Linked DNA regions of Homo sapiens: all the other regions are linked to region 3. Evidence: promoter capture Hi-C in 16 types of primary human blood cells and fetal thymus (Javierre and others, 2016). All regions are on one chromosome and are shown on one strand. Each heading gives the region's core, a stretch centred on a gene start or on the middle of the fragment in contact. The rest is flanking DNA. Distances are from core to core; before and after follow the strand shown. Region 1 holds the start of PSMC6 (proteasome 26S subunit, ATPase 6). Region 2 has its middle 8.8 kb from the start of TMX1. Region 3 holds the start of RTRAF (RNA transcription, translation and transport factor). Region 4 has its middle 25 kb from the start of LINC02310. Region 5 overlaps LOC124903315 (a long non-coding RNA gene). Region 6 overlaps LINC00519 (long intergenic non-protein coding RNA 519).

What was found. Contacts are between HindIII fragments. The CHiCAGO score rates a contact against its expected background, and 5 or more counts as called.
Region 1: a contact is called between the fragment with the promoter of PSMC6 here and the fragment with the promoter of RTRAF in region 3, in 4 of 17 cell types (total B cells, neutrophils, total CD4 T cells and 1 more). The highest score is 7.4, in total B cells.
Region 2: a contact is called between a fragment that was not itself captured here and the fragment with the promoter of RTRAF in region 3, in 1 of 17 cell types (non-activated CD4 T cells). The highest score is 5.1, in non-activated CD4 T cells.
Region 4: a contact is called between a fragment that was not itself captured here and the fragment with the promoter of RTRAF in region 3, in 1 of 17 cell types (M0 macrophages). The highest score is 5.3, in M0 macrophages.
Region 5: a fragment that was not itself captured here is called in contact with the fragment with the promoter of RTRAF in region 3 in 5 of 17 cell types (endothelial precursors, M2 macrophages, megakaryocytes and 2 more); the score reaches 6.5 in endothelial precursors.
Region 6: a contact is called between a fragment that was not itself captured here and the fragment with the promoter of RTRAF in region 3, in 1 of 17 cell types (M0 macrophages). The highest score is 5.3, in M0 macrophages.

Annotation. Positions count from the first base shown.
Region 1 is chr14:52,705,182-52,709,682 of GRCh38, reverse strand. It overlaps PSMC6 (proteasome 26S subunit, ATPase 6), which reads right to left and starts at 2,483. Exons shown (of 14, transcript NM_002806.5): 1 at 2,379-2,483; 2 at 1,295-1,374; 3 at 1,161-1,200; 4 at 867-919. The coding sequence starts at 2,463. RefSeq lists enhancers at 2,123-2,172, 2,193-2,442, 2,743-2,802, 2,823-2,932. The HindIII fragment of the contact is 4,351 bases long and covers 1-3,184 here.
Region 2 is chr14:51,229,109-51,233,780 of GRCh38, reverse strand. No RefSeq gene overlaps it. Among named protein-coding and RNA genes, the nearest start is that of TMX1, 8.8 kb to the left of the region's middle. The HindIII fragment of the contact is 4,378 bases long and covers 1-4,344 here.
Region 3 is chr14:51,986,717-51,990,966 of GRCh38, reverse strand. It overlaps RTRAF (RNA transcription, translation and transport factor), which reads right to left and starts at 1,421. Exons shown (of 8, transcript NM_016039.3): 1 at 1,267-1,421. The coding sequence starts at 1,327. LOC105370497 (a long non-coding RNA gene) reads left to right here and starts at 383. Exons shown (of 3, transcript XR_007064166.1): 1 at 383-448; 2 at 2,278-3,804. RefSeq lists enhancers at 942-1,001, 1,342-1,636. The HindIII fragment of the contact is 14,873 bases long and covers 467-4,250 here.
Region 4 is chr14:51,369,319-51,374,174 of GRCh38, reverse strand. No RefSeq gene overlaps it. Among named protein-coding and RNA genes, the nearest start is that of LINC02310, 25 kb to the left of the region's middle. RefSeq lists an enhancer at 4,823-4,856. The HindIII fragment of the contact is 685 bases long and covers 2,742-3,426 here.
Region 5 is chr14:51,288,807-51,293,102 of GRCh38, reverse strand. All of the region lies in intron 1 of LOC124903315 (a long non-coding RNA gene), which reads right to left. Among named protein-coding and RNA genes, the nearest start is that of LINC00519, 37 kb to the left of the region's middle. The HindIII fragment of the contact is 1,337 bases long and covers 1,867-3,203 here.
Region 6 is chr14:51,307,467-51,312,219 of GRCh38, reverse strand. The region is part of intron 1 of LINC00519 (long intergenic non-protein coding RNA 519); the gene reads left to right. Among named protein-coding and RNA genes, the nearest start is that of LINC00519, 19 kb to the left of the region's middle. The HindIII fragment of the contact is 2,076 bases long and covers 2,292-4,367 here.

The sequences.
Region 1 (4,501 bases), core at 1,234-3,733, 720 kb before region 3:
CTTATATATACTTCGGCTTTTCTAATGTTTTTTAGTCTTCAAATACAGTCTTGTCCTCATGCAACCTGAAATATCTTAGAAATGCCAACTTTCGGCATCCACAGAGCCCTGAAAGGGACATGAAAATCCCTTGTCAGTTTAGGTATCTAATATTTTGACTTAGAAAATGTCAACCGCTTATATACTAGGCAAAATCCTAATAGGAGATTTATAGTTCCTGGATTAAATTCTCCCTTACAGCCATGTTCTGTGAATGTTTTAAAACCTGAACCTGAAATGACAATTAAACAGAGAAAACTCTTCCAATGAATTTAAAAGAATTATCTAAGGACACTTCCTAAAGAATAATACATAAATTGATTTCAGACACTACTGAATGACTTGAGGTCATTTGTTGGCATCTTTGATAACTGTAAAATAAAATTTAGAATTATTTCAACTTGCCCTACCCTAATCTAAATGACCTCATACAAAATTAACTTAGGCCATGGTACAGTCCATAAGTAACAGTTCTGAATGTCTAAATATAAACACAGGTAACTGATGATATCTAACACTTTTAAGTCCTCTTTAAAAATGACATTAAAATAAAATGTCTGTTTTCCAGTTCTAAAATACTTTTATTTCTAAGTGGCTATTAACAGATCTGACTGAGACAATGTAATACAGTAGAAAGTACGGAATGCCAGGAGTCAAAGCCCATGGTTTGAATTCAGGCTTTGTTAATAACTAGCTATGTCTGAACAAATCATCCTTGTGAGTTATGGGCATAAATGCTCCACCTGCTTGCCTCAAGAATTAGAGACAATAACTTACATGAAACTGCTTTGTCAATCATCAGGCACTATACAAATATAAAGTATTACCTGTCGACGACAACCCACAACATATCTTGGTCCATTGGTAGCTTTAACAATGACTAGAAGAAAAAACATAAAAGAACTAATTGAAAAATAGAAAGTAAAAAAATACATACCCACGTTGACAGAGGGTTTAGTTGTATTTCTGTCCTCCAAGGAGACATTAGTTGAAGGAAAACTTAAGTCTATTCAAAAATACTCTCTCTCTCTGCATTATTGTCATTAAAATAATAAGCATTTCAAAAGTGAGAGAGAGGTGGACTGTTTCTTTACTAATTAATAAGCTAATTCATCACTCACATTTTTCTTCAGTTAACTGTTTAAGCACTTCACCCACGATCTAAGGAAGAAAATAAAAAGCATTACTTTTTGGCAACAGCTAAATAAAAAAGCAAATTACCATCACCCCCTATTCCCCAAACTCCATCACCTACCTGCCCAACACTCTGTAGGGCCTTCAGATCATTTTCAGACTTTTCATACTGCTTGGTAAGTTCTTTTAATTGTTCCCTTACTGAAATAATACAATTTGAACATTTTTAATTGAACAGTAATCTTAGTGTGTTTAAGTCGCTACGTCTCACTTTACTGTTTACGTAAGTCTACTTCACTTTACCTAAGTTTCACATCCACTGTTTCAAACCATAAAAGAAATAATGCTGTTTGTAATGAGTAGGTGGCATGTATAACAACAAAATGTTACAGAGAAAGCACCATACTTTTACTTTGTTGATCGGCAATACTTGTTTAAGCACATCTTAAGTTATAGTCTTAGAAGATATTGACACCCTGACACTTAGGATTTGCGACTACAAATCCGAATGATAATCACTTAGACCCTTCCTCACCTCTTCACCTACCCACGTGGATTGTTCTCTGACATTCTACCCTAAATAAAGTCAACAAATGCAGTTCTCCACAGAATCATGTAATTATGGTCCTCCATTTAATTAAACTACTCATGCTTTTCAATGAAAATGCACTGGAAAAAAAAGTTAAGCACTCAGGAGGTAAGGGAAATTTGTATGCCTGATACAGTACAACACGAAACACAAGACGATATGGGTTATTATGACAACTGGAACACTTCTCTCTTAAGCTCCGCGGCCGTCTTTCGACTCCAAGAACAAGCCGACTCCCTGAGTCTCATCTCTTGTTTGAGCTTACTTGACTCAAGCGCCTTCCCCTCTCCAAGTCCCGGGACTCCACCAAGACTGCCCTTCTTGCACCCTAACCTGGGAAACATCCTCGGCCCACTTCCCCACTCCTCCTCTACTTCTTTTTCATTTTCACCTCAAGGCCGCCGATGTTCTGTCACCCGGGCTGGACTGGGCCATTTCTACACCCGAAGGAGTGCTGCTCCACAAGCTCAGGGCCGGATGACAAAGCGCCTTGTCCCTGGCCCTAGGCCTGGTCATCTCTAAGGCTCGGTTGCCGGGCTCGGCGAAAGGCTTCTGCTTTGTCAGAGGCAGAAGCGAGTCGAGGCACTTGATTAAATGGAAAGAAAGGTGCACTCACACTCCTTAAGACGGCCGTCGATCTCCTTGTGTTCAAGCAACTTCTTGCGGTAGTCCTGAAGCGCCTTATCTCTAGGGTCCGCCATGATGAGAAGCCGTCTCTCATAGGGGATGCCGGGAATGGCCATGGCCGTCCGGGCGGGGGAAGGGGCGGGGCGAGGGGCGAAACCCTGCCTGGAGGGGTGGGTTCGCCCATGAGCCCTCCCCTTCCGGTTGGCCCCGTCTTTCTACTCCACTTCCACCTCTATGTCTCGGTTCACCTAGAGCGCCGGCATACACTGAAAGAGGCCTCCACCTATACCGTTTCTTGCAAGCCGAGATAGGTAAAGCAGGACTCAGTTATCCCGGTCTTCCCCTGAGAGGCCTCAGTATTAAGTCACTGCTGTCCCGGAAGTATAAAAGGCTCTGTAATAAACTGAGATGGAAGTGAAGTAGGAAATGTGTAATACCTCAAAGGAGTTCCGATGGCCTGTCGACACAACACAGATGGCCTTTGTTATAACACAGTACTGTCCAAGACCTCCACGTGCTGGAGAAGTAGACAGTTTTATTCATCCATTCAGTCAGTGAATGAGGTATTAAAGGTAGATCTGCTTATCATTTGATAGGAAATAATAATAAAAAAAACTTCAGAGTTTAACAAATACTGTGAAGGAATTAAAACACGGTGAGAAGTATGGTGGGAAGAATTAATCTAGAACAGATATCTGAGATGAGAAGGAGCCAGCCTTGCAACAACTGAAGAAAACCTAAACAAACAGTGCAAGTCCTGGAGTGGAGTGGGGTGGGGGTTGTGGGTAGAAAGCTTGACTCACTTCCAGGAACAGAAAGGAGGCCAATGAGACCAGTAGGGGGTGGGTTGTAGAGATGTGGGGTACAAGATAAAGATGCTGAAGTAGGCTGAGGCAGGAACTTTGAAGTCTGATAGAACCTTCAGATTTATGTATTTATTTATTTACTTTTGAGATGGAGTCTTGCTCCTGCCGCACAGGCTGGAGCGGTGACGCGATCTCAGCTCACTGCAACCTCCACCTCCCGGGTTCAAGCAATTCTCCTTCCTCAGCCTCCGGAGTAGCTGGCATTACAGGTGTGCGCCACCACAACCGGCTAATTTTTGTATTTTTAGTAGAGACGGGGTTTCGCCATGTTGGCCATGCTGGTCTCGAACTGCTGACTTCAGGTGATCCACCCTCCTCAGCCTCCCAAAGTGCTAGGATTACAGGTGTGAGGCACTGCGCCCGGCCAGATTTTTTTTTTTTTTTTTTTTTTTTTGAGTCTGTGTCTCACTCTGTCACCCAGGCTGCAGTGTAGTGGTGCGATCTTGGCTCACTGCAACCTCTGCCTCCCGGGTTCAAGCGATTGTCGTGCCTCACCCTCCTGAGAAGCTGGGATTACAGGCGCCCGCCACCACGCCCGGCTCATTTTTGTATTTTCAGTAGGAATGGGGTTTCACCATGTTGGCCAGGCTGGTCTCCAACTACTGACCTCAAGTGATCCGCCCGCCTCAGCCTCCCAAAGTGTTGGGATTACAGGCGTGAGCCACGACGCCTGGCCAACTTTCAGATTTTTGTGATTTGGGGAAAATTACATACTCCCTCAATATCTCTGTAAAATGATCATAATAATTGCACTTATCTAATGGGGTTGTCATGAGTATTAAATAGGATAATGTGCCTAAACACAACATCTGCCACATGGCATGTACTCAATAGTGTTCTTTTGAATAGATATTTATTTTAAGGGTAGTAATGACTCCAATTTTTGCATTACAGGTCCTCATTGCTATACCTCTTGCTATCATTGTTCCTGGGGACAATTAATTGTTGTCCAAAAAACATGAGTAAAATTCTCCAAATAGATTCCATTTGGTCTCACCTTATCCAATGGCCATGAATGTTTGAGTTTAAATATATACATCCTAAATATACAAATAAAGTACAAATTTTTGTAAATTAATGACCCAAAGTCACATAAAGGATGCCTTCAAATTTATTAGGAACAATTCTCATGGGTATTGTGTGAATATTCCATTCTATTTTTCTTTTTTTTTTTTTTTTTTTTTTTTTTTTTTGAGTTGGAGTCTTGCTCTGTCGCCAGGCTGGAGTGCAGTGGCGCGATCTCGGC
Region 2 (4,672 bases), core at 906-3,405, 760 kb after region 3:
CAACCACTTTTCTCAGTTTATGTTTATCTGGGAATGTCTTCATTTAACCTTCATTTTTGAAAGATGGTTTTGTTCTATATAAGATATTTGGTGTATAGTTTTTTCTTCCAGTGCTTTGAATATGTCATCCACTGTCTTCTGATCTCCATTATTTCTGATGAGAGGTATCTAATAATCTTATCAAGGTTCACTTGTACGTGACAAGTTGTTTTTCTGTGGCTGCATTCAAGTTTTTTTTTTGTCTTTGTTAGCATTTTTACTATGATGTATCTGGGTGTGGAGCTCTTTGCATTTGTCCTATTGGCATTTGTTGAACTTCTTGTACATTTAGATTAATGTTTTCTGGAAAATATGAAGGTTTCAGTCATTATTTCTTCAAATCCATGTATTTTTTGCTCCTTTCTCCCTCCTTTCCTTCTGGTAATCTCGTTAAGCATATGTTGGTAAACTAAATGGTGTCCCACATTTATTGCTCATTTTTCTTTATTCTTTTTTCTTCCGTTCTTCTGATTGCATAATCTCTGTGAATCTATCTCAAGTTTACAGATTCTTTCTTCTGCCTCCAAATTACTGGTGAGCGCCTGTAGTGATTTTTTTTATTACAGTTATTGTACTTTTTAACTCTAGACATTCCATTTGGTGCTTCTTAAAAATAATTTCTATTTATTGATATTCTCTTTTCGATGCAACATTGTCATCATACCTTCCTTTAAGTTCTTTAAGCACGATTTATTTAAGTTTGTTGAATATGTTTATAATGAATGCTTTGATATCTTTGTTAAATCTGACATTTTGGCTCTGTCACAGGTAGTTTCTGTTGCCTACTTTTTTCTCTGATCTATGGGTCATACTTTGCTATTTCGCTGCATGACAATTTTTTCATTGAAAACTGGACATTTTAGGTAATACATTATAGCAATTCTGAGTACTGATTCCCTCTATATGGTTTGGACTTGTCTTTTGTTTTTATTTGATTGTGGTTTGTTTAGTGACTTGGCTAGGCTATTTTGGTGAAGTCTATTTCTCCAGTAGCGGAAGGCCTCTGCTCCCATTTCTCAGAGAGTGCAGCCTTGGACATGTGCACCGTCACCAGGGGATATCAGTGGTTCTAGCAAGGCTCTCTTTGACTGTCTCTTTCCTTGATCTCTCTGTTAAACTTTCTGTCTCGTTTGGTGTTACCTCTAGCTGTTGTGCTACACTAAGTGTAGGATGATTTCTCTGTTTAAGAAGATACCCCCTGGGGCATAAATTGCTCCACAGTCTAATCCAATAAAATTCAGGCATTGGTAGTTTTTGAGGCCAGTCTTGGAGGTTTCCTCTAACCTCAAGAGGGCTCTTCTTAGTTGTCTCCTTCCCTGGTTCTCTCTGGTAAACTAGCTAGCTTATGGTTTAGCTTGTTGCTTTTTATTACAGGAAACTATTGTTTTTTTTAGAGCAACCCGAGGCTTGACCATCACCCACACTCTGTTTCAAATAAAGGTAAGTCCTCTGGGGAGAGCTTCAGGGCTCTCTGTTTTTATGGGCTGCGTCTACTCATGGGCAAAATTGCTTAGTTATTATTCTGGGCACTGGGTAGAACAGGAGGCTCTGATCTTCTTGACTTGCTTCTGAAGTGGAACCTCTGCCATATGAGCAAGCTGGGTTAAGGGTGATTGGAGTTCCCAGTGTTCTCACTCTGCTGCACCTGGCATAGAACTTTTGTCCCCTGTATGGGGCCACACTTACCAGGAATTTAGCCTTTGCAACTCAGAGTTGGAATGGATGAAAAATGCTGGTGGCCTTTTCCTCCTGGTGAGATATTGCCTCTCTTGATTGAGAGTTGAGGAGACAGGGAGCCCTATGTTCTTGGTCACACTCACCCAGAGTAGAGTTTTGACCAAGATGAGCTCAGGGGGTGAGGAAGATGGGTAGGAATCGAGTGTATGGCTCAGACGCCATAGACTGTTACTGTTCTTACTCAGTTTTAGTGGATTTTCTTGAAAAAAAAGAATGCTTCTTCATTTGCTGTATGCCCTTAGGACAATTTCCACAGACTTTAGATGGTTGTTTTTGTTTTTATAGTTTTCAACAGTATTATGGGATGAAGTTGTGTGCCCCCTCCAAATTCATGTGTTGAAGTCCTAACCTCTAGTAACTCATAGTGTAACTGTATTTTGAGATAGGGTCTGTAAAGAGTCAAGTAAGTTAAAATGAGGTCATTAGGGTGAGCCCTAATCCAGAATGACTGGTATCCTTGTAAGAAGAGGAAATTAGAAAACAGACTTGTACAGTACAGAGGGAAGACCATGTGAAGACACAAGGAGAAGATTGCCATCTACAAGCCAAAAAGAAACACCACAGAAGAAACCAACCCTGTCAAAATCTTGATTTCAAACTTCTAGCCTTCAGAACTATGAGAAAGCAAATTTCTGTTGTTTAAGCCACCCAGTTTTTGGTACTTTGTTATGGCAGCCCCAGCAAACTCATACAACCAATTATGCTTGTTTTGCTGGGATGGGTCTACACTGCCATCTGGAAGCCCAACCCAAGCCATCATCTTGTCTCATGTGGATTATTACAACATGCAAGGTTCTTAACTAGTCTCAATGCTTTTATACTTGCATCCTCCCAGCTCACCAAGTATATTTTCCTGTCTAAAACCAAAGTGGTATTCCTGAAACACAAGGCTGACCATGTCATCCCCTACTTAAAACTGTTTAATGGCTAGGTAACATGCTTTCTATTATCCTTAGCATAAAGTTCAACTTTCTTAATATAGTCTCCAAAATCATACTGTATCTGGCCTTTTCTAATGACCAAGCCTCAGTTTTTGACCTCTTTTGTACTGTCTGATAAAGTCATACTAGGTTTCTTACAGTACCTTGACCAAGCTATATTTTCTCTTCTAGGTTTTTGTGGAAGGTATACTGCTCCCCTCATTCCCCAACTGCCCTGCTTCATTGCCACATAACTATTCAATCTTCAGATTTTACCTATGTATCCCTTTCTTCAGAAAGTCTTTCCTAAGCCAATTAGTTTGGGTATGATGTCTTCCCTGGTACACTCTCTGAACCCTGAACTTCTAACTTCACATTTAGTATACTGTATTGTATTTGCCTACTTACTTGTGTCTCCCCCACAGGATTGTGACTCCAGATTATGAACTGTGTCTATCATGTTTATCATTGTTTCTTCAGTACCTATAGGTCATTGGTATTACCAGATTCTGCAGGCTAATTAAATCTATAGCCCAAAGAGTTAGAGACACCAAGATTACATAAAAACATAGAAGTTCTATGTGCTTAACTCAACAGACATCAATGTCTCTGTATGTATACACACACAGACACACAGACACATATATTAAGTCATATATACATACATATATAAAGTCAATGTAATGAAATTTTTCTGTATATTTATAACATAAACGTAAATGGAAAGTATAGATTTCTTTTACCTTTTAAGTTTTTAAAATTTAGAAGGTAACCGATACTTGGAACACTAGTCATCAAACAAAACATGACTATTAGCCTGATAAATCAGAACAGCACTTTTGGAAATAATTTGGCAATATATTTTAAGAATTAGAAATATGGTTCATACAGGCCAGGCACGGTGGCTCATGCCTGTAATCCCAGCACTTTGGGAGGCTGAGGCAGGCGAATCATTTGAGGTCAGGAGTTCAAGACCAGCCTGGCCAACATAGTGAAACCCCATCTCTACTAAAAATACAAAAATTAGCTGGGCGGTAGTGGTGTGTGCCTGTTATCCCAGCTACTCGGGAGGCTGAGGCAGGAGAATCACTTGAGCCTGGGAGGCAGAGGTTGCAGTGAGCCGAGATCGTGCCACTGCATTCCAATCTGGATGACAGAGTGAGACCCTGTCTCAAATTTAAAAAAAAAGTTCCTACATTCTGGAACCCTACTCTAGGTACTTCATCACATGGAATGAACTGAAAAGTGGGACCTTTTTCCAACATGTATGCGAAAAAATCTTCATGTATGTTTATAATTACAGATGAATAAGAGAAAAGATATTATCTCACAGATATTGTAGTAAACAGTATCACTGATATCCTGAAAGGGGAAAGCCTTTTGTATATCAGCTTGGAAAAGAAATCCTTTCATATATATAGTTAGTGGCAGCAAAAGACTATCGCTAAAACTAGAAACAAAACACAATTGGAGAAGTATGACGCCATGTGTCATCACAAAAGGACATGGCTCTTCAGACAATCTCACAGCTCCGTAGGCCAAGATTAGGATTATTGACTAGTCCTCTCCCATCTAGATGCAGAAAGACAAAAGTAAGGGTCATTTTGAATTTATGAGATTGGCTTTAAAATTTAACTTCAAAGAAGCTTTAAATATTTTATAATGTTCTTGTTCATGCATAAAATTTTTAAACATAACTAGAGAAAAATCTAGCTGTTGAAATGGATCTTATCATTTAAAACCCTGAATTAAAGTATATAAACAACATTTGGCCATCTGAAAGGTTACTAAATCACTGCTGTAATTATGTGGCAAGTTACAGGGATTTGGAGCTCAAGATTAGTTTAATATGTGTGATTGTAATTGTCAAAAAAGCAGGAAGAAAACTAAAGTTATAGACATCAGAATTAAATTATGAAGTCTGGTCAGTTTCAGGAGAACGAGCATTGTGTGCACATAGCATTAAAATCTCTGGC
Region 3 (4,250 bases), core at 172-2,671:
AAAATAAATACGGATAAAAACAGTGCCTGGCACATAGTTTTGCTATTTAAGTGTTACATATTAATATTCCAGTTCCTTTGCGGACAGAAAGGGGAAGGAGGGCAAGGTTAAATTTATAGCAAAGTAATAAAGTAAAATATACAACAAAATAATAAGTAAAAGAAATTAAATGACAAAAAAGACACTGTGACAACTGTTGTCATGGAATGTTAACTGCACATTAAGTGCATAATTGTTTCGTTTAATCCTCCCCATACCTCTTTTGAGGTAGGTAATATCCCATTTTACAGATAAGAACATTGAGACTCAAAGATTCCAATCCAGAACAAGGCTCTATTGTCACTGATACTTTTTTGTTAAAGTAGAAAAACAATAGATTATAATTTGATATGCTTCTACAGGCGATCAACAAAACACTGTCATCCTGCTTAGAAATTATTTTCAATTTGTGAGTCAAATTCAAGCTTCCATTATAAGGTCTTGAGAATTACACAGTGGTCTGAGTATCACAAGTTATACTTGATCACTTTCAAACTTACCAGTCTATCACAGGCCACAACTATACAAAGGAAACGAGTAGTGGTGGGTAGCAGTTTAGTTACAGTGAGTAGCAACGTTATTACTTTTTAAAATTCTAATGCTGTAAAATCCCAAATACCTTTGTATTCACAATTCAACCTTCCCACTCATCTGCTATTAACTTTTTTGCAACACCACATAACACAACTAGCCCGTTACTACACGCGCTTACCCTCCCACTGTGATCGGTCCTGATTTCATTGTGTACTGTCTCAAACTGCTCAGTGGGTTCTGATTGCTTCCACCCCTCGTCCCTTTAGCTCCTGGCAGGCAGTGAACTAGTCTTCAAGTTACTCAGCACCTTCCTCAGAATCCAGCACCGCGCTGGCCCATAATTAGCAGGTGCTCAAGGTATCGCCTAATTACCCAGGGAACCATGGAGTTGAATAGTGAGTGAGAAAGACGAATGCTCTCCCTTTTATGTACAGAGAAGGTAGTTACGTGATGCTTGGAGTTAAGCAAGTGCAGAAAGTAACATGCCGAGACAGGAGTAGGTGAGAGGGCTTTAAAGGCGGGAAGGGGCGGCGAAGAGCCGAGGTACGTGGCGACCCAGAGGAGAGGGGCCCGGAGGCTGCCGGCGGAAACCAGGCCGCCGAGGGTCCCGACGGGGAGGTGGGGTGCGGGCACTGAGGCTGGGACCTCCGCCCAGGTCAGGGACACGCGGCCGGGCTGAGGCCGCCGCCTCACCTTTGCAGTTGAAGCCGGCGGGGTTGTGGTAGTCGAGAGCCGTCAACTTGCGTCGGAACATGGTCCCCGCTTCTCGCTCTGGTCCCCCGGGCCTCGGCCGGGAGAGAAGAAGCGAGGTGGAGCGGGAGGCGCAGGCACCGGCGACGCGGCGAGAGGGCGGGCAGGCGCTGAGTCGCTCCGAAATGACGGCGGCCTTCGCCAATCGTGGCTTAAAAGCGGTGGCCGCCGGCAAATGCCCACCAATCGCGGCTCCGGCTGGGGAGGCGGGGCCACGTCGGCGCACGTCGACGCTCAAATAAACTTTATTGTCAGCTTCCTGGTTGTACAATAGGCAGAAAACCACCGGGAAGCCACTTTCCTTTCTTTCTTGCTATAGCATGCAGAGAATAGTATATGTAGGCTTTTGGTATTCGCTGTACCTCCCGTTGGATTACAGAATTACTGTTTAGTGTTTTGAGTGCATTCATTCATTTTATTACTCCTCCTACATAACAGGTGCTCTTCTAACACTGGTAATACAAAGACTACAAAGCAAGGTCCCTATAGTAAGATGCTTTCAGACTAATTGGGAGTGATCCACAGGTAAACATACAATTGTTAATACGATGCGATCGTTCCAGATATCCTCAGCCAGAGTGAAATCTGAAGCCGAGATCGTCCCTCACTCCCCCTCACCCTCGGTCACAGCATCCAGTAGGTCACCAATTCCTGCCATTCTGTCTCTCCTAACTCTCAAATCCCTCACCTCCTTTCGGACCCCACTGATACAGCCACAGATCAGATCCTCATCACTTTTGCTTACTCTAATTATCTGATTGATTTCTTAGGGCCAGTCCTGCGTTCTCCAAACCATTCCTCCATACAGCGATGAGAGAGATTTTTCTAAAGCAAAAACCTGTACATAACTTTCTCTGCTTATGTTTTAGTGGTTCCTGGTTACCCCCTAGAAATAATCAAAACTCCTTATTGTATTTAAGATCTTTCCTGATCCAGTCTCTACTTGCTTTTCAGACAGTGGAGAGAGAGCAGTGAACAAGACAGACCAGGCCCCTATTTTCATGGAGTTTAAAAGGCTAATGAGGGAAACAATAAACAGATAAGTATAAACTAAGGCTTGAAGATGGTGAGGCATTCACCATGCAGTCAAAAGGGTAACCTAGTTTGAGGGAAGAGGATGTATAAAGGCAAGAAATGAGCAACAGCATGGCCCAGAGGGACTAGAGCTTATAGGGGCTGGAGGGTGAGAGGGAATGACAGCTGATAAGACTATAGACAAAGGCAGGGCTCTGATAAGGAAAAGCCTCTCATGGCAAGCTAAGGGGAGCTATTGAAATTCTTGGGGGTAAGCCAACTATGTACGTTTCATTTCATTTCATTAATTAAGATTTTAATTAAACACTTAGGATCTGAGGAGCATACAAATGAGTAAACTACAGTCTCTATTTTCAGGAAGTTTAAGTATAATGACAAATATAGATGTGTAAATAAATACTTATAATCTGGAGTTAGAAAGAGTAAGTGAATTACAAGAAATATAAAATGTACTACAAAGAAGTACAGGCCAGGTGCAGAAGCTCATGCCTGTAGTCCCAGCACTTTGGGAGGCTGAGGTGGGAGGATAGTTCAAGCCCAGGAGTTTGAGACCAGCCTAGGCAACATAGTGAGACTTTGTCTCTATTAAAACTAAAAAAAAAAAAAAAAGAAGAAAGAAAAATTAGCCTGGCATGCTCGTGTGTGCCTGTGGACCCAGCTACTCAGGAGGCTGAGGTGGGAGGATCACTTGAGCCTGCAAGGTTGAGGCTGCAGTGAGCCATGATCACACCAACCTGTGCAACATGTAAGACCCCATCTCAAAAATAATAATAATAAAAAGAAGTACAGAGGCTAGAATACAGCTTTAGTTTTAAGGGGGCACTGTAAGATAATCTGTATTTTTCAATTAAGGTGCTTATAGAGTGAATCAAGAAAATCAGTTCAAGAGTGTCTCATTTCCAACAAAATTTGATCAAAGATATGGCTATAATCTCATATTGTAGTGCATGCTAGTTGTATAATTAATGAAATACTAACCAAAAAATGAAAAAATGAACCAATCATGGAAGGGAAAATAATAAATACTTACATATAAATAATAAATTAAAAAGGGGGAAAAATACAATTGCAGACCATGAATTTCTTTAAAAAAATAAGGAAAAACATCTCTTACCATTTGTTTTCTGAAATTGACCTTTCAAGGCAAAAAATGAAGTTGTTTGCTCCTGGCCTAGTCTTTCCACTTCAGGGTCCCCATTGTCAGCAACTTAAGACTGTCCCTAGTCATCAGCCCCGGCCACCACCAGGAGTGGGGAGGTTGGAGGAAGATTCAGATGATGCAGAATGCTAAAGTGTCAGGGGATACTTGAGCAGGGGATAAAGCAAACTTTGGGAAAGAAGTATAAAATAAATATTAATCCATTTTTTATGTTAAAACCCAGTTATCTTTTTTTTTCTCTGAATTTGAAGGAGTTCTTTGACCTATTCTGAATGGAGTGTCCAACAGTAAGTGAATCTTACATAATTCCATTTCTGAAGACCAAGCCCTCTGTATACTTCAAGAAAAGGAAACCAACTTTTGTGTGTGTGTGTTTTCATAAGTACCCAGTGTTTAGCTCCCACTTATAAGTGAGAACCTGTGGTATTTGGTTGTCTGTTCCTGTGTTAATTTGCTTAGGATAACGGCCTCCAGCTGCATCCATATTGCTGCAAATTTGGACATAATATTTGTTCTTTTTATGGCTGCATAGTATTCCATGGGGTATATGTACCATATTTTCTTTATCCAGTCAGCCTCTGATGGGCATCTAGGTTGATTCCACGTCTTTGCTATTGTGAACAGTGCTGCAATGAACATGAGAATGCATGTGTCTTTTTGGTGGAAGGATCTGGAAATCAACTTTTATTATCAAATGACCTGAACTCCAATCTAATGGTTGATCATAGGTTTG
Region 4 (4,856 bases), core at 1,835-4,334, 620 kb after region 3:
AGCTAACGAAGCAAATAAACTATTAGAACCTTTTTTAACTCCCCAAGCTGCAACATTAAATGTAGAATCCCTGCTTAGTGGGCCCAAATCAATAAATTCAGCCTGATCCAACTTTATGCTCCTTCCACCACTACCCCACACCCTTAATATCCATTCCCATTCCTGTTCTCCAGATTTCTGCTTACATAAATTAGAAAACTCAAGCAGTTATTTTGGAGCGTAGTGCCCCTCCTCATGGGTCACACTCTGAACCTCACCTCTAGGGGCCTGCTGGGACCTGAGTCTATTGTTATAGGTCTAGAAGCAAACAGGGGTGTTAGGGGTGGGTGATAATGGTTTGGCTATGTCCCCACCCAAATCTCATCTTGAATTGTATCTTGAATTCCCATGTGTTGTGGGAGGGACATGGTGGGAGATAATTGAATCATGGGGGCGGTTACCCTCATGCTGTTCTTGTGACAGTCAGTGAGTTCTCATGAGATATGAGGGTTTTGTAAGGGGCTTTTCTCCCCTTCGCTCATTCTTCTCTTTCCTGCTACCTTTTGAAGAAGGACATGTTTGCTTCCCCTTCTACCATGACTGTAAGTTTCCTGAGGCCTCCCCAGCCCTGTGGAAGAGTGAGTCAATTAAACTTCTTTCCTTTATAAATTATCCAGTCTGGTGTACATCCTTAGAGCAGCATGAGAACCGACTAATATGGTATTAAACAATATATAGTCAACTAGAATTTAAAGGCTCAGGAGGATCCTAAAAATAGCATCCATTTAAAAAATGTAATTAAATCACTGACATATACCCAGTATAAATCCTAGGAAAAGTGTTACAGTAGGGTATATTACAGCAGAGTACACAGTGTTTAGAAGATGTGCATTGAGAAAATATTTTTAAATGTTCACCAGCACAGTTCCTAGGCTTGGCAGTATGCTATTCAGGGTGGACGTGATAATTAGATTACCTCCTCTTGGCAAATTATACTGTTAAATTTTCTTCTGAGAGAAAGCAAACGTGCTACTTAGTGTTATAAATATTAAACACCTACTTTTTTACATATTGTTACTTTTTGTCAGACTTTTTTCATGTGCATGAGGAAGACTGAAAATAATTTCCCCAACGTATAGCAAATTCAATCAGAAGGCCACATGGAAGGAAATAAATGTGAGTTATTGTTCCTGTTGTTACTGCTATTGCAATCACCCTAATCTTCTTATTGAAATTTCATATTTTAAAGACAAATTTTGCCCTCCACCGTCACCACTCTAAGAAAAGTTTGGCATCATCGACCACCTCCTTGAAATTTTCTCTGATTTGAAAAGGGAATGCTTATACACTCCTGGTGGGAGTGTAAATTAGTTCAACCATTGTGCAAAGCACTGTGGCAATTCCTCAAAAAACTTAAAATAGAACTACCATTCAACCCAGCAATTCCATTACTGGGTATATATACAAAGGAATATAAATCTTTCTACCATAAAGACACACGCACACATATGCTAATTGCAGCACTACTCACAATAGCAAAGACAAGGAATCAATCTAAATGCCCATCAGTGGTAGACTGGATAAAGAAAATGTGGTACATATATACCATGGAATACTATGCAGCCATAAAAAAAGAATGAGATCATGTATTTTCCAGGAACATGGATGGAGCTGGAGGCTGTCATCCCTAGCAAACTAATGCAGGAACAAAAAACCAAGTACTACATGTTTTCGCTTGTAAGTGGGAGCTAAATGATAAGAACTCATAGACACAAATTGGGGAGCAACAGACACTAGAGCCTATTGGAGCATGGAGGGTGGGAGGAGGGAGAAGATTGGAAAAAAATAGGTATTTGGTACTAGGCTTAGTACTTGGGTGATGAAATAATCTGTACAGCAAACCCTGTGACACAAGTTTACCTGTGTAACAAACCTGCACATGTACCCCGAACCTAAAATAATAGTTAAATTTTTTTTTCTCTGATTTAACTTCCATGATACTACTGCTGACAGCTAACAGTTTTTGAGTTGTGGCGGTGTTCCAGGCACTGCTTTTAGCACTTTCGAGTATGATCTCCCTTAATCCTCACAATAACTCTATGAGCAGATACTTTAAATAGCCTCGTTTTACAGATAGAGAAATTGAAGCATGCAGAGGTGAAGTTGCCCACCATAAGCCAGCTAGTTAACTTGTGGAGTCTGAATTTGAACTCAGCCAGTCCTACTTGAAGCCCATTGTCTTTTCTACCACATTGAAGCTTGTCATCTCCAACTCGTTGGGCTATTTAGAGTGACCTCCTGTTGTTTCACTTGTTATGTTCTCTTTGCTACTTTCTCATTGCCTCTTTTAATTGCCCCAACTGATTAAAAACAAAACAAAACAAAAAGCTCAGGACATAGTCTTCCTCTGCCCTGAAGTTCTTTCTCCTGTACTTATGGGTCATTTTCCTGACAGTGGGGGCACAGCCTGTATCTGAGATCCTACACATAAAATACTTGCCTTGTGTTTACTAAATGGTATTATTACATGACAATGATCCTGTGCACCTTCCAAAGCACTTCACATACACATTTTTATCTGATTCTCAACTCTGCATGTTGAAGGTCAAGTTTATATTTCTTTCCAACTTTTGGCCTCCCTATTCTTTCAGGACACTATCATCCTCCTACTCATCATCAGAGTCATCTTTAACTCATCTTTCTTCTTTAGTCTCTACATTTGATCTGCTACCTAGTTTTATGGATTCCACTTCCACCAAGCTTTTGAGCTTTTTCTGTCCTTTGTTTCCCCTGACACTAAAGCACTACTGCATGAATGCCACCCCTCTTACTCAAAAACATTCAATGGTTTCCTACTAGCTGCCAAATTAAATGCAATCTCCTGAGTCAAACGTTAAGATTTATTTTTATGTCTTTACCTTGCCACTCAGCATTAACTTAATCCACTATGTGAGTCCTACACTCATTCATATTAGATGGAATAATCTACACCTAATCTTTAAGCAAAGGGGAGCACTGTAGAGTTTCAGATGGATTAAACCTCACACATTTTATCTTATATGTGTCAGACTTCTCTCTTGAGAACCTCAGAGTAATTTGACCTGAAAAGCCCTTCTAATATCTTGCAGATATCAGCTAAGACTACTTCACTTCTTTTAAAGTAACTACTTGTTATAGCTTGGATGTGGTCCCTGCCCAAACCTCACATTGAAATGTAATCCCCAGTGTTGGAGGTGGGGCCTGATGGGAGGTGACTGGATCATGGGGGTGGATTGCTCATGAATGGTTTAGTGCCATCCCCTTGGGACTGTCCTCGAGATAATGAGTGAGTTCCTGGGAGGTCTGGTCATTTAAAAGTGTGTGGCACCTCACCCTTCACTCTCTTGCTCCTGCTTTTGCCATGTGATGTACCTTCTCCCACTTTGCCTTCCACAATGATTGTAAGCTTCTTGGGGCCTCCCCGGGACCAGATGTCACTATGCTTCCCGTACAGCCTGCAGAACCGAGAACCAATTAAAACTCTTTCTTTATAAATTACTCAGTCTCAGGTTATTTCTTTATAAAAATGAGAGAATGGCTTAAGACACTTATTCTTCATATTCAAATTTTCAAAATAATCTCCACATTTTAACACAGCGAGCAGCTCCTTCCATTCCATGTAGCAGTGGAAAAGGAAAAGAGAGTGAGAGGATACTGCTGGGCTATTGAAATTGTGAAAATCCCCTTTAAAAGTTCTCCCTTAGGAGGCTGAAGCAGGAGAATCTGTTGAACCAGGGAGTTGGAGGTTGCGGTGAGCTGAGATCGTGCCACAGCACTCCAGCCTGGCAACAGAGTGAGATTCCATCTCAAAAAAAAAAAAAAAAAAAAAAAGTTCTCCCTTAACCCAATAAAAGAATATGGTTCCCAAATAAGAAATCAGAGTGAGAAGGAACATGATTATTACATCTTAGGGCCATAAGCAAGGCTACCCTGAATTATGAAAACCGCATAGTGAGGCAGGTAGCGCACTTTTTCCTTGGCTTTGGTTTAAGAACTTGCTCATATGAATCATCTTTAAACCCTAATTGATAATTTTATTTAAACTACTCTATTTTTAAAGAAGTAAAAATTACCTTATTCTCTGATTATGGTAAACCTGATCCTTTGGCCACACGACCAAGGCGCTGAAATGCCCCCTGATGGCCGCCTATCATAATTGCAGACTCATACCTAGCCCCTCGAGGGTTCTCTAACTTCAATCTGTACTCAGCTATTTGCCTATGTAGTGCGGTTTCAGGGTTCCATTTGTTCTAATTTTGTGCCCACTTTTTAAAAATCTTCACTACCTAGCGGATGCATGGTATTCTTCTGATAGTGCTTTATTTCTTTATCACAAAAGCACTGGAAGAGTGATAGTTCTGTGTAATTTGCACTGTGATATAAACAGGTTACTCTTTGGTGTTAAGTTCACAAGTCTTAGCTGGGATGAATTTTGACACTAGAGAAACATTCCAGGGTCTTCCGAGAGAAAAGAGTATTACTGGCAAAGGTGAAAGAAGGGTACAAAATGGAGAAACTAGATAGACCAAAGACCAATTATGTTTTCAATGTTCTCTCTTTACAAAACCATGGTCGGGGCCGGGGGCGGTGGCTCACGCTTGTAATCCCAGTACTTTGGGAGGCTGAGGCGGGCGGATCGCCTGAGGTCAGAAGTTTGAGAGCAGCCTGGCTAACATGGCGAAACCCCGTCTCTACTAAAAATTAAAAAAAAAAAACAAATTAGCCGGGTGTGGTGGCGCGCGCCTGTAACTCGGGAGGCTGAGGCAGGAGAATTGCTTGAGCCCGGGAGGCGGAGGTTGCGGTAAACCGAGATTGCGCTGTTGCACTCCAGCCTGGGC
Region 5 (4,296 bases), core at 1,286-3,785, 700 kb after region 3:
ATTATAATATATAGTGCTTTTTAGTTAAAAGAGTTTTTACTGTTATTATTATTTTAACCTAATCTTCATCTGACCTCCCCAGTAATTCCATAGTGTATCAGCTGCGGTCCCAGCATGGATCAGATGGCCATTCAAAGAGTTTAATTGAAAATTGTTTAAAGAAGGGACTATTTACAGAGATGGATCAGTCAGAGTCCAATCAGGAAAACAAAAACTGTGCTGATTATTTTAATAAGGTGAATTAAATATAAAGAAAGGATTGGAGATCTTTATATGAAGTATCTAAAGTAGTCAATTCGTAGAGACAGAGAGTAGAATGGTGGTCATCAGGGGCTGGGGGACGGGCAATGGGGATCTGTTTCAAGGGCAGAGAGGTTCGGTTTTGTAAGATGAAAAAGTTCTGGAGATTAGATGCAAAACAATGTGAAGCTACTTAACACCACTGAACTGTGCACTTAAAAAGGTTAGGATGGTAACATTTATGTGTTTTTCACAATAAAAAGAAAAAAAGAAAGGGGTTGGAGATCTGAATATGTGAAAGGAATCATAAAAGTAACACAGAAAAGCAACTGTGAAGGACAGGCTAGCACCACTCGGGCCAGGAAACAAAGGGAAGAGCTTAGTGTTGTCACCCAGAAGCTCGGAGCAGGGCAGCAGATGTGGGTCTGAGGCCTCTGAAGAGGGGCTGCCCGGTTATTACAGGTCCTTGAGAGCAAGCACAAGGACGGCCCTGAGAGTGCCAGAAAAACACGGGAGGCTGCATCCCAAGGCTGCTGTAGGAAGGATGGCTGCTGAGGATAGTCTAAGGGGAAGCACAAGCAAAAGGAGGAATGGGTCCCTGCTCCTCCCTCCAGTCTTGCAGGCTCCCCACAGCACCCTATATTGGCAGAACCGACAGAGAGCTGCTGACAAAGAGGGATGTCTTTTGGAACATCACAGCCCAGTACCAAAAAGCAGGGCATAAAAAAGGGTGGTGAGGAGCTGAGCAATATCAGCTTAGTAATGGGCAGGGTAAAGGGAATGGTAAAACAATCAGCAACCAGGAACAGCAGGAAGCAATTATTGCCCCTAAGTCTAAGGGGCAAGAAGAAGGGATGATGTTATGGGAACCTTGTCAGGGCCATTAGGGACATGGCTGTGGGAGAGGGGCTGCCCAGCAGGATCTGTGGCCATCTGCTTAAACCCCAGCCAAGCAAGGAGGGAAGGGGGCAGAGATGGGGGAAGAAACCCCCTGACTTCTTTCTCTCTCCCTACCGGCTGGTCACCATAGCTTAAGAAGGAATGTTTAACATATATTTAATCAAAATGGGACCTACTAATATGCCTTTATCTGCATCTTCATCTCCCCATCTAAAGATAATAGTGACAATAAAACTGAAATCCCTCTAAGTTAATATACTTCAATTCATTCCTTCTCAACAGTTTAGCAGTAACTTGGCATGAACAAAATTTGCTTTTAAGCATGAAAAATTGGTGATTTTTACCAAATTTATTGAAAGCCTAACGTGCCATTAAAAGACTTGGAACTGATTTTTACAAACACTAGGAATATAAAAAGCAGAATAAATGTTTATCACCTGCTTCTCTTGCTCATTGTTGAAAAATTGCTTTGGATTCAAGTTCTCTAAAATGGGAATGATCATAATACACATCACACAGGATTGTAGTAAGGATGAAATGAGAAAAAAACAGGTGAAAGCACTGTGGAAAGGGGGGGTTTTATTTTCTGTTACCTTCAGCTTTCCCTGGATCTGGGTGTTCTTTAAAGCAGGGGTCCCCAACTCCCAGGCCATGGACCAGCGCTGGTCCATGGTCTGTTGGAAACCAGGCCGCACAGCAGGAAATGAGGGGCAAGCCAGCAAAGCTTCATCTGTATTTACAGCCACTCTCCATTGCTCATATTACCACCTGAGCTCCGCCTCCTGTCAGATCAGCTGCAACATTAGATTCTCACAGAAGCATGAACCCTATTGTCAACTGCGCATGTGAGGAATCCAGGTTGCATGCTCCTTAGAAGAATCAAATGCCTGATAACCTAAGGTGGTGATGCTAGTGCTGTGTAGTGGCTGCAAATACAGATTAACATTGGCAGGGAGGTTTGACTGCACAGAGACCATAATAAATCAATTACTTGCAGACTCCTATCAAATCAGTGAGTGGCAAGTGACAAGCTACATCTGGTGGCAGACTTTATAGCAACAAGTGAGTTGATGTCCTTCAATTGTACAACTGCATCTGGTGGCCTTAAAAGCACATTTGAGACAACTTCAAATCTCCGTATCTTTTGGATTAAAGTCAAGTTGGAATGTCCTGAGATTGCCATAAAAGCACTGAAAATCCTCCTTCCATTTCCAACTTTCTATCATTGTGAAGCAGGGTTTTCTGCAGTGACAGCAACCCAAACGAGATTATGGAGTAGACTGGACATAACCAACACACTTTGGGTGTCACTATCTCCCATCATTCCCAGATGGGACCATCTAGTGGTAGGAAACAAGCTCAGAGCTCCCACTGATTCTACATTATGGTGAGGTGTATAATTATTTGATCATATATATTACAACGCAATAATAATAGAAATAAAGTACACAATAAATGTAATGCACTTGAATCACCCCAAAACCATCCCCAACTCTGGTTCATGGAAAAACTGTTTTCCACAAAACTGGTCCCTAGTACCAAAAAGGTTGGGGATCATTGCTTTAAAGTACCACCATCACAATCACCATCATAATCACTGCCATCATCACCATCTTCATCATCACTATCATCATCATTACCTCCATCAGCACCATCATCATCATTATCATTATCCTCATCACTAACATTACCTTTTTTCCAGGCCCTATATTTCTTTGCCCTCAGGGCCTTCAAAATTTTATGGAGCAAAAAACCCTCTTGGAGGGAAATAAGAGATGAGATTTGGAGTCAGAAGAGTTGCGTTGGAATGCTGGGTTTGCCATTGACTAACTGTAGGATCCTTCTGAGTTTCCCAGTTTTCTCATCTGTTAAACAGAAATACCTACCTACCTCTGTTGATTATTTTCCCTTTGCCCCTCCAAATCCATTCTCTGCCCTCCCTTTGCCATCTTATTTTGTATCTTGTAAGGATGACTTTTACAGACCAAATCACCTAGGCTCCCTTGTATGTGTATATGTTTGTAGGAATATTGATAGAGGGCTGGAAATATACATATCAAGCTTAAGTTATCTGATTTAAGAAAGCAGTAGTGGTGGCTGGGCACAGTTTGTTGCTATTTTATGAGCAACAAAGTGTAATTCCAGCACTTTGGGAGGCCTGAGGTCAGGAGTTCAAGACCAGCCTGGCCAACATGGCAAAACCCCGTCTCTACTAAAAATACAAAAAAATCAGCTGGGAATGCTGGCACGTGCCTGTAATCCCAGCTACTCAGGAGGCTGAGGCAGGAGAATCACTTGAACCTGGGGAGCGGAGTTTGCAGTGAGCTGAGATCATGTCACTGCACTCCAGCCTAGGTGACAGAGCAAGACTCTGTCACAAAAAAAAAAAAAAAAAAAAAAAAAAAAAAAGCAGTCATGGTGATAGTGGTAGAAAGATTAGGTATGGAAAAAAGATGAGCAAAATGAAAAATATTTACATGTGAAAATATTCTGCTGAGCAAAAAAACTGAGACACAAAATCATAACTATGTCTGATGTCATTTGTGTGACATTCTAGAAAATGCAAACTAATCTGTAGTGACAGAAAGCATATCAGTGGTTGCCTGGGGCCAAAAATGGAAGGAGAGATTAACCATAGTAGGGTATGAGGGAACTTTCTGGGGTAATAAAACTATTTGGTGTCTTGATTTTGGTAATAGTTACAAGATGAATACATTTGTAAAACCTCAACCACTTGTACAATCATTTGTACTAGTTTATTATTATATGTAAATTATACTCAGTAAAGTTGATCTGAAAAATACTTGGGCTAGGAGCAGTGGCTCACACCTGTAACCCTAGCACTTTGGGAGGCTGAAATAAGAGGACTGCTTCAGACCAGGAGTTCAATACCAGCCTGGGCAACACAGTGAGACCCTGTTTCTACAAAAATTTTTAAAAATTAGCTGGGCGTGGTGGCACACACTTGTACTTCTAGCTTACTTGGGGGGCTGGGGTGGGAGGATTGCTTGAGCCTGGGAGGGTCAAGGCTGCAGTGAGCCATCATCATGCCACTGCATTCTAGTCTAGGTAACAAAGTAAGACCCTGTCTCCAAAAAAAAACTCATGGCATAATATAAATGGAAGAGATATATAATAGAATTCTAGCAGTAATAT
Region 6 (4,753 bases), core at 2,080-4,579, 680 kb after region 3:
AGTTTAGAAAAATTTATGAAAAAAATAAAAATAAAAAAATAAAGTCTTTCAAAAGCAAGTAAAGGAAAAACTTGGCTTGGCTGCCTGTAGATAATTTTGTTTTGATACCAGTTTGAATAAAACAAGAACTCTCTGATGGATTTATAACATGATAGTGCAATTCAAGCATGGGATAAACTGAAGGTGACAGGAAGGGTGGCACATAGGCCATGTGCAATAAGCGTCACATTGACAGGGCAGCCTACAGGAGAACTTAGCAAACGTGGAAAGTGACTGGGCAGAAAGGTGGTGATACCTCAGTTCAGCAATGCCCTGAGTATATGTGAAGAAGAATCTCTTGATAAGCAGTATAAATCCAATTAGTAACATTCAGATTTTCATATTTTCATAAATTTCAAACACTATTTTTTGAAAAGTGCAGTCACAGTAAATCTGAGACCGCAATGTATTCAGCGTAGGATAGCACAGCAAGAGCAGCAGTGTGCACAGTGCCAGTCCAGCATGACAGGTCCATGAAAATGTCTATCCCGGGAGCAACACCACTGGCCCACTCTACAGCTTCTCCTGCATCACTGACATTGCTAAGTTACTTTATACACTTCATTCTCATCACAGTGAGTTTTCTGACTCAACATTCATAAGTCTCTCCATGTTCTTGTTCCTGCACAAGCAAATTATTTCTCAAAACCTCTTTCCCAACTTCTCTCTTGAGGGTAGGTTTCTGTTCTACAATCAAGTATCATCTTCCTCCTAATCATGGGAAATGCTGAGGAGATATTCACCTTTCCTCAGTGTGGATAGTGTGAGAAAAAGATCAAATCCAGGAAAAATGAGTACCAAGAAGGAAGGGGGGGAATCCACCTTTATCCATGTAGATAACTTCAGATGCAATCCCAGAAAGGGGCAGTCATGTTCCCATGGGTGTTTAAACATGGCTGGAATATAGCTAAATAAAAGCAAGCTAATTATCATTGATGAGCACACATGCTATTTACCTTTGGTGAGCCTTTTTCTGAACTTGAACAACGGATTTCCAATATTTACCATTGCAATGATTCATAAAAAGTTAAGATATTCTGGATCAAAATTGCAGTGTCCACTAAAAATACTCAGTTCTGACTTCCTTTTCAAATCAATGTGAAAGGCCATACAAGGTAAGTATACAATTCCACACTCAGTTTGAGATTCCAGAGTGTTACTTGTGAAAATAGATAGATGAGATTGTGAGGGGGGGTTGCAGATTCTAGTAATAAATGCATCTCTTCTTCGTATAAGATCTTCTCGGGGATGTGTCACTATCCTACACTGCATTGCTTCTGTTTCCAATTAGTTTCCAAAGCTACCATAGCCACAGTACACAGAGTGATACAGACAGGAAGCTAAGACAATTGTATACCTCTCTTGCATGGTTGATAATTTAAGCAGTAGAATGTCCAAGACTGTACCCATTTGGGGCTTTATTCATCATGAACAACAAGGTTTTTTTCCTGGCCTTATAGTAAATCTTTCATCAACAACTACAGTGAACAACACAGATCCAAGAATAGAGTTATTCTGTGTGACAGCAGAGAGAAGAGTCAGATGCATGATCCAAGGAAAATTCCCAGAAGGCATGAAGCCAAACCAAAGTAGGAGGGAGCATGTGGTGGAGTGGGCTTGAGTGAGCAGCTGTTTCCCACTATTTTCCTCTCAGTCAAAACTCTTTTTATTGCCACTGCCCTTAAGCCACATCAATAGCCTTGCCATGATTCTCTTACCTCGATGTATTTCTGTTCTTGAAATGAGATGGAAAGGCAGAAACCTGAAGAGTCTCTTTCTCTTCTCCATAAATCACCAACTAGATTAAAAAATAGAGCCCATTCACCAGTTACTCTTCTCATCTCGTAGGACTCTATTAACATGGTTTTGTCAAGTGTGCTATAAGGGAAATGGCTTAGGGAAGTTGGCAGACCTCAATAAACCATCGCATGGTTGTATTGAAGTTGAACAGTTAGAATGGCCAGGTGGCATATTACCAAAAAGAATGCCAAGGGAAAACTAAAAAACCTCTTTGTGAAGGTCTTATTCCTAAATACACAAACATTGAACCCCAAAAAATGAACAAATCTTCAAGATTGCAGATTGATTTAATAAATTTATTCCAGAATCCCATATATAATAAATGATTAAAAGAAAGGAACAAAGTTTCTACTAGGATGTCTTGAACACAAATAGCTCTTTCATTGTGTATAAGCCTAGTGAAATTTCATTCCGATGGAACAGCCTGTTCTGCCGTTCACCTTCATAAAGCTTCATCTAAGGATAACGGCCATTCAAACAATCAAATTACCCACTGTGGTTTCTTAAGAAAGGTGCAGTTCTGTATTTCTAAAATGTTCATTTATGTAATTAATGACTTTGGACTTGCAGGGAAATATTCTCCTGATTATTTGATACAATTGTAGGGCATGAATCTACTGGCAATGATCAAATCTTAAACACAAATGTGGAATAATTGCTCAAAATACATGTAAAAGTCTTTCATGATTAAATTAGCATGGGACTGAGAACCAAAAGTACTGTATAAGAATCACTGCATTTACCTGAAATTTTTCTGAGAAAATCAACATATCTATCTTAGAAATCATAGAATCTCTGAGGGGGCTGAGACCTTAGATAACATTAAAAGCAAACTTCTTTGGTAGGGTGACCAATTCTTCCAGGTTTGCCTGGGATTTTTCTGATTTTAGCACTGAAGATTCTAAGTCTTAGAAAAATCTCTGAGTCTTGGGTAAACGAAGTTGGTCACTCTACTCTTTGGATTCATGAATCTTCTCTGTGACATAACATAGAAGAAACTTAACTGAGACTTCACAGAGTTCGGTTAGAACACAGAATAACACAGACATGGACTTCACAGAGTTCTATTCTCCGTTGTGTCAAAATCAGTGCTATGATCTATCCTTGCTCTGCCTTCCACAGCAAGACAAAGTTTATTCCCTCTTCTACCTGGTAGCTCTATGAGTATGTGAAGGCTGCCCTTCCCATCCCACATTTCCCCAATCCAGTCTCTATTCTCTAGGATAAGCTGGCCTAGCCCCTTCATCTGCTCCTTGAGTGTTCTCATTCCATTGGTAACCTCACTACTCTCCTCTGGGCAGGCTCATCTGTCAAGGTCCCTCAAGCACTGACAGGCCAAACTTAGCTCAAGGCTCTGCACAATGCCTGAGCAGACTTCATGAGCCCCTCCTTCATGGGCCTGGGTGTCATGTTCCCATGCAGACAGACATTCCTTTAATTCATTTGTCCACCATATCCCACCATCAGATAAGAATACAATTCATGTCAACATAAAATCATGAAGATTTTTTACATATGCTATTATTCAAAGCTCTGCCATCTTGTAGTTTTGTAATTGAATTGGTCTTTAGACCCAAACATCACACATTTATCCTTTACAGTGAACCCATTATTCCAGCCCATGATCCCAGCTTTGGATCATAATTCTATCACCCAAATTATTCATTCCAGTAATTTGGTTCCAGGTTCATATAGTATGCAAATGTTTTCTGCATGTCAACATCTGCAATCATGCAAATCATTGGCAGAAATGTTGACTAGGTCAAGCGGAATACCAGATGATTAGTCAGTACACACCTATTGGCTACATAAAGGCAGGTATTCATGTGGGTCCTTTATTTTGAAATATTCTTTAGGGCTTTCCCTTCCAGATTTTAGAAATTGAAACAAGAAAGAGTACAAACACACAGTAGCCACACTTTCTTCTTTTCAACCAGTAACTGCCTTCTCTTTACCTTGAGCCCACATATATTCCTTCAGGCATTTCCAAACTTCAATGAAACAAGTTATGATAGAAATCCCATCATGAGCTGGAACTGAGCAGCACTGAGTGTGAATCATGAGTGCAGAGCTGCCAGTATTCTTGACTCTCTTCTTTCCTGGCACACAATAGGGCTGCATTTGCCCACCACTTTTGAGGTTGGGCATGGCCGTGTGACTTGTGTTAGCCAATGACATGCATGTGGAATGATATGTATTACACACTGGCAGGAGCTATAAAATCCAGCTATGGGGTTTGTCATGTTTCCTCCTCAGTGTTGTTTTGATCAGGGAAAGAAGTGTCAAGACAAAGCCTTCATTAGCCTGGGTCCCTGGGAGAACACAACTCTTAGTAGGGTGAATATGAGGGTGATGGATGTGTCAGAGTTCCCCTGCGGACCCATATTGGACATGCAGGTTGAGTAGGAAACAAAGCCCCTGAGATGTCGGTTGTTTTTTTTTTTCACTGTTCTATGACTTTGCCTATTACACAGGGTAACTACAATGCAGAAGTAGAAAAATACATGAACTCCTGTTTACAAGAAGCTTACAGTATAGTTGGGATAAATCATACCCACAAAATACAAGTAAGGACTCAATTAGCATGAAGTAGGATGCTAAACTGAAAAGTAGAGATAATTAGCCAGTAAGATGTGGTGCTAAATGTGAGTCACTGAGATGATGCATTAAAAGGGAATTAGTAAAATAGGAGCTCAATGTGGGCTTACAATTCTCAGAACACATTTCATTTCCGCTAAGCAAAAGTGCAAATTATATAATTTATTGAAAAGTATTATAGGAAATGGTTCTACAAATATGTTGACTCTTCTCTTTAAAAACTGTAATAAAAGTGTGGGCTTAAGTTATGGGGCCATTTTCCATGTATTTGATTTCAGTCTTTTCTAATAAGGTACTTAGTGTTTTTTTAATGGAC